2 separate regions of the Homo sapiens genome follow, and region 1 is linked to region 2. Evidence: promoter capture Hi-C in 16 types of primary human blood cells and fetal thymus (Javierre and others, 2016). All regions are on one chromosome and are shown on one strand. Each heading gives the region's core, a stretch centred on a gene start or on the middle of the fragment in contact. The rest is flanking DNA. Distances are from core to core; before and after follow the strand shown.

Region 1 (2,700 bases), core at 123-2,622, 350 kb before region 2:
TAAATAAAAGATACACATCTCTGTAGTCCCAGCTACTTAGGAGGTGAGCCCAGGAGTTTGAGGCTGTAATGCACCATGACTGTGCCTGGGCAGCATAGCAAGACCCTGTCTTAAAAAAAATGATGCTGGGACATGGGTGATCCATATGGAAAAATAGTTATATTCCTATTTCATACTATAAATAAGATAAATTCCAGATGAAGATGTAAATATGCAGAACAAAACTTCGGGAGACTATATGTTGTCAAGAGTGGGGAATAATTTCTTAAAACTCCAGAAGGCACAGACTATAAGAAAAAACATCAATGGGGCCGGACACAGTGGCTCACGCCTGTAATCCCAGCATTTTGGGAGGCAGAGGCAGGCGGATCACAAGGTCAGGAGATTGAGACCATCCTGGCTAACACGGTGAAACCCCGTCTCTACTAAAAATACAAAAAAATTAGCTGGGCGTGGCGGTGTGCGCCTGTAGTCCCAGATGCTGGGGAGGCTGAGGCAGGAGAATGGCATGAACCTGGGAGGCGGAGCTTGCAGTAAGCCAAGATCACGCCACTGCACTCCAGCCTGGGTGACAGAGCAAGACTCCGTCTCAAAAACAAACAAACAAAAACATCAATGGCTGGGTGCAGTGGCTCATGCCTGTAATCTCAGGACTTTGGGAGGCCGAGGCAGGCAGATCACCTGAGGTCAGGAGTTCAAGGCCAGCCTGGCTAACATGACAAAACCCCATCTCTACTAAAAGTACAAAAAATTAGCTGGGCATGGTGGCGGGTGCCTGTAATCCCAGCTACTTGGAAGGCTGAGGTGGGAGAATCGCTTGAACCCGGGAGACAGAGGCTGCAGTGAGCCGAGATCGCGCCATTGCACTCCAGCCTGGGCAATGAGAGCAAAACTGTCTCAAAAAACAACAACAAAAAAAAAAAACAAACAAAATCAATAAATTTGACCACATCAAAGTACATATTGTATTTATAAAGACAAAAACTCCAAATAACAACAATAAAACACCATAAATAAAGTGAAAACAAGTCCACAGCCTGAGAGAGGTTATTTACTATGCATTTAAGAGGCAGATAATTAGTATCCAGAATACAGGAAGAGGCTGGGCGCGGTGGCTGACGCCTGTAATCCCAGCACTTTGGGAGGCCGAGGCAGGCGGATCACTTGAGGTCAGGAGTTCAAGACCAGCCTGGCCAACATGGTGAAACCCTGTCTCTACTAAAAATACAAATTGAGCTGAGTGTGGTGGTGTGCACCTTTAGTCCAGATACTTGGGAGGCAGAGGCAGGAGAATCACTTGAACCCAGGAGGCGGAGGTTGCAGTGAGCCGAGATTGCAACACTGTACTCCAGCCTGGGTGACAGAATGAGACTCTGATTCAGAACAAATAATACAGGAAGAACTCCTGCAACTCAATCAGAAAAACAACAGATGGTCCAATGGAAGGAAAACGAGCAAAGGATGTGAACTGGAATTCTCAAAAGAGAAAAACTGGCCAGTAAACCTCTAGAAAAAGGAAGGTGCACATTCCTGTGACTCATACATTCCTCTTAGAAATTTGAACCGTAGACATGTACAAAGGTGGTAATTATAGCTTTATGATAGCAAAAAGCTGGAGTCACCAAATGGGAGAATGGAAAAATTATGGTACATTCATATGGTATCATTTTAGACATCATGTCATTTCTGTAGATTGTAAAATAAAAATTTTAGACAAGTGAAAGTGAACGAACCACAGAGTTGTGTGTATCAACATGGCTAATTCTCAAAGACTTAATGTTGAGAAAAAAAGAGCAAGTTACAGAATATACAAGTGCCGTGTACAACAGTGTGGACACTTTTGAAATACACACAATAATTTCAGGTTAGTGGTTTCTCCCAGGGGAGAGAGGAAGGAAAACTGTTTTTTTTTTTGTTTTGTTTTGTTTCTTAAAATGGTACTGAATGTTTTCTTTTTTAAAAATACCTGGAGCATATATGGCATGTTGTTGAGATTTGTTAAAGCTACAGTTGTGAGGGTATGGGTATTCGTTACTTTTTGTAATGTTTGAAGTATTTCCTAATGTCAAAGGCATCTCAAACAATTTTTTCTTTTTTTTAAGAGATGAGGCCTCACACTGTTGCCTAGGCTGGAATGCAGTGGTGCAATGACAGCTCACTGCAGCCTCAGCCTCCCAGGCTCAAGCGATCCTCCCACCTCAGCTTCTTGAGTAGCTGGGACCATAGGCATATACCTTTTGTACTTTTTGTAGCGACATGGTCTCACTACATTGCCCAGGCTGGCCTCCAACTCTTAGGCTCAAGTGATCCTCCTGCCTCAGCCTCCCAAAGTGTTGGGATTACAGGCATGAGCCATTGCACCCAGTCATCTCAGGCAGTTTTTAAAAAATTTTTATATATAGAGAAAAAGTGCACTCAGCAGCCAGCATGATCCAAAGGAGAAGCAGCTGCACCCTCTCAAGTGATGACGGGGACACCCCTCGGCTGATGAACAAGTTTCCTTAACCCAGTTTCCGCAGCGGTGGAGGAGTGCAGCCAGAAAGGCTGCCTCGCTCTGTCTCTCCTTGAACTCCTGGGTTTTAACCTCACCTTTGTCTTCCTGGCAAGCCTCCTTGTTCTCATTGAGGTGAGGTGGTTTGGATTCACCTGCTCGCTTAGGAGGTTTTAGAGTCCCGCACTCCTTTTCCCCACCTCCTTCCA
Region 2 (2,700 bases), core at 74-2,573:
GTGGCCGGGAGCAAGGGTCTCTGTACCTCTTCAGGCAGCCTGCAGTGAGGAAACAGGGAACAGAATAGCCTCCTGCCACCCAGCCCACCCCAACCCTTAGAAATGCCCTATGTGCTGGGGGCTAGGACCCCCGTAATCCAGGGCTGGAGGAATGTGCTCTGGCCCCGCAGGGCTGGCCCTGTATTAGGGCTGGCACTCAAAGTGGGGATGGGGGGACAGATTGCAGCTGGAATGGGTGCTCGGTCATGATGTAAATCCTGGGGAAGCCAGCTCTCCTGGGCCTGGTCTCAGCAGCCCCTCAGGGCCCTGCAGCTTCCCTGGTGACATTCTCTCCCAGCCTCTGTTCATCTGCCCCCTGCCTGGGCAGGAGACTTGAGCAGGGAAGTGCAGAGTCTTCTCCCTGTGAGAAGGCTGGATGCGTGTTTAAGGATAAATGAACACGCGAAGAGTAGTAACAACAGCCAAGATTTATAAATGCCTATTGTTATATATGTAGATACTTACTTAAGTATATATAAAGTACAGACTGCATTATGTATATTACATATCTTTAAATTTTTAGAATAGTCCTATGAGGTCAGTTCAGAGATCCAGACCCAGGTGGTCTGGCTCTAGAGTCTAAACAGGCCGAGTGCAGTGGCTCACACCTATAATCCCAGCACCTTGGGAGGCCAGAGGCGGGAAGATCACTTGAGGGTGGGAAGAACACGTGAGCTCAGGAGTTCGAGACCAGCCTGGACAACATGGCGAAACCCCATCTCTATAAAGAAATCAGCCTAGCATGGTGGCCCGAGCCTGTAGTCCCAGCTACTCGGGAGGCTGAGGTGGGAGGATCGCTTGAGCGCAGGAGTTGGAGGCTGCAGTGAGCTATGGGTGAAAGAGTGAGACCTTGTCTCAAAAAAAATTAAAAAATAAGAATTAAATATATTTAAAATAGAGTCTAAATAAGTGAATGATCTAGAATTCTCTTGGTTCCCCTAAAGCAGCTGTCAGCTTTGGGGGATGTTTTTCCAAATTAGTGCCTCACCCTCACGGGACAGGGAAGCCTGTGGGAGCTGGGAGGGCAGGTGGAGGCCGGGCAGGTGGAGGCCGGGCAGGTGGAGATGGTGATTCGAAGAGGAGGGGACGATAGGAGGAGGTTGAGGGGTCACCCGAGTGCTGGGAGTGACGCTGGAGGTATCGGCCCAGCGATGCTGGAGTGGTCGGGTCGGAGGCCCAGCAGCGTCTGGGGAGGGGCGTGGGGGAGGCGTGTCCAAGGCCGGCTGGCCCCGCCCCGCCCCGCCGCCTGGCCTCTGGCCCGCTGGGGCGCGGGCTTTCGCTTTCAGTCGAGGGCTAGCGAGCGCAGCGGAGCCTGGAGAGAAGGCGCTGGGCTGCGAGGGCGCGAGGGCGCGAGGGCAGGGGGCAACCGGACCCCGCCCGCACCCATGGCGCCCGTCGCCGTCTGGGCCGCGCTGGCCGTCGGACTGGAGCTCTGGGCTGCGGCGCACGCCTTGCCCGCCCAGGTGGGTGACTCGCGCGGCCCACGGGGGACAGCCGCCCCGCATGTCCACCCGGCTGGTGCGCAGCCTTCGGGTGCCCGGGCCGCGCTCTCCCGGGGCGCTGTCACGGGCTGGGAGGCTGGGAGTCCCAGTCGCCGCCCCCCATCCGCATCAGACACGCGCGCCTCTGGGGACCCGCTGGGGACTCCGGGCCCGGCACACGTGCGCTCGGGGCACAACTCTGGCCCCCGAAGCCCCTCTTACCCGCGTCGTGACAGGGGCGCACCCTGGTTCCTCCGCGAGCGCAGGCCGGGGCATTTGGGGCTGAGCAGCGGGTCCTGGGCAGACCCCCGCTAGACCCGGGACCCCTCTTCCCTCACCCCGGCGACTGCCGCGACAGCCCTTCCCTCCCACGCGGTGGAGAAGGGGCTGTGCCGGGGCGCTGCCCCACTGCCCACGCCGGGCACCCTCTTCAAAAGACTTCCTTTTCCTCTGGGCGACGGTTTTCCGATTTCTTAGAAATACCAGGGTCCTGTGTCTGAAGAGCAGGACCAGGTGTGTGTCAGGTCCACTGAGGGCACAGCTGGAGGGCGAGCTGCCTGTCTGCTTCCTCCGATGCGTCCGGGGGCTACTGCAGAGTCTGTTTTCTGCGGCCTCTGGGGACAGGGCAAGCGAGGGAGGTCTGGGCTGGTAATCGAGCAAGGCAAATGAAGTCTCCGGGGGCCGCAGGAAAATGGAGACAGCAGAAACCCTAGGGCTCCTATTCAATATGAACGTCACTCCCACAGTAGCAACGGGCGTACAAGGGACTGTGCACCCTTTGCCTGTTTTTGACTGTCTCCTGGTCTGGTAACATAGGATAACCCCATTTTTGTTTTACTGTCTCCATGGTTTGGTAAGATAAGATAAACCATTTTTTAGAGAAGGAAAACTGAGGCTCAGAGAACTTGTATTTCATGGAAGGGTCTGGGGGGAACTCTTCCTCCAAAGGGGGCCTCTCCTGCCTTCGGCCCCTGTGCCCTGAGGCTGCGGGGAAGGTGGGCGTTCATCCTTCCTCAGAGCCGCCCCTGATGGACACATGGCCCATCTGCCCCCATCTGACATCTTGACCGAGGAGGAAGGTGGGAGGTGGCACTGGCTTCTGTGGTGACATAAGGTGACTTGTTGATCTGAGGCCAGAGAGTCCAGTTCTTGTGGGTGGAAGATGGGGGCTGTCAGACTA

The links. The method cuts DNA at HindIII sites, captures the fragments that hold promoters and counts their contacts. A CHiCAGO score of 5 or more calls a contact.
Region 1: a fragment that was not itself captured here is called in contact with the fragment with the promoter of TNFRSF1B in region 2 in 2 of 17 cell types (neutrophils and naive B cells); the score reaches 6.4 in neutrophils.

Annotation. Positions count from the first base shown.
Region 1 is chr1:11,820,176-11,822,875 of GRCh38, forward strand. CLCN6 (chloride voltage-gated channel 6) reads left to right here. Exons shown (of 23, transcript NM_001286.5): 6 at 2,520-2,626. Among named protein-coding and RNA genes, the nearest start is that of CLCN6, 15 kb to the left of the region's middle. The HindIII fragment of the contact is 5,075 bases long and covers 1-2,700 here.
Region 2 is chr1:12,165,668-12,168,367 of GRCh38, forward strand. TNFRSF1B (TNF receptor superfamily member 1B) reads left to right here and starts at 1,324. Exons shown (of 10, transcript NM_001066.3): 1 at 1,324-1,502. The coding sequence starts at 1,425. MIR7846 (microRNA 7846) reads left to right here and starts at 1,276; the gene lies at 1,276-1,371. RefSeq lists silencers at 1,160-1,469, 1,480-1,709 and an enhancer at 1,750-2,391. The HindIII fragment of the contact is 7,422 bases long and covers 1-2,700 here.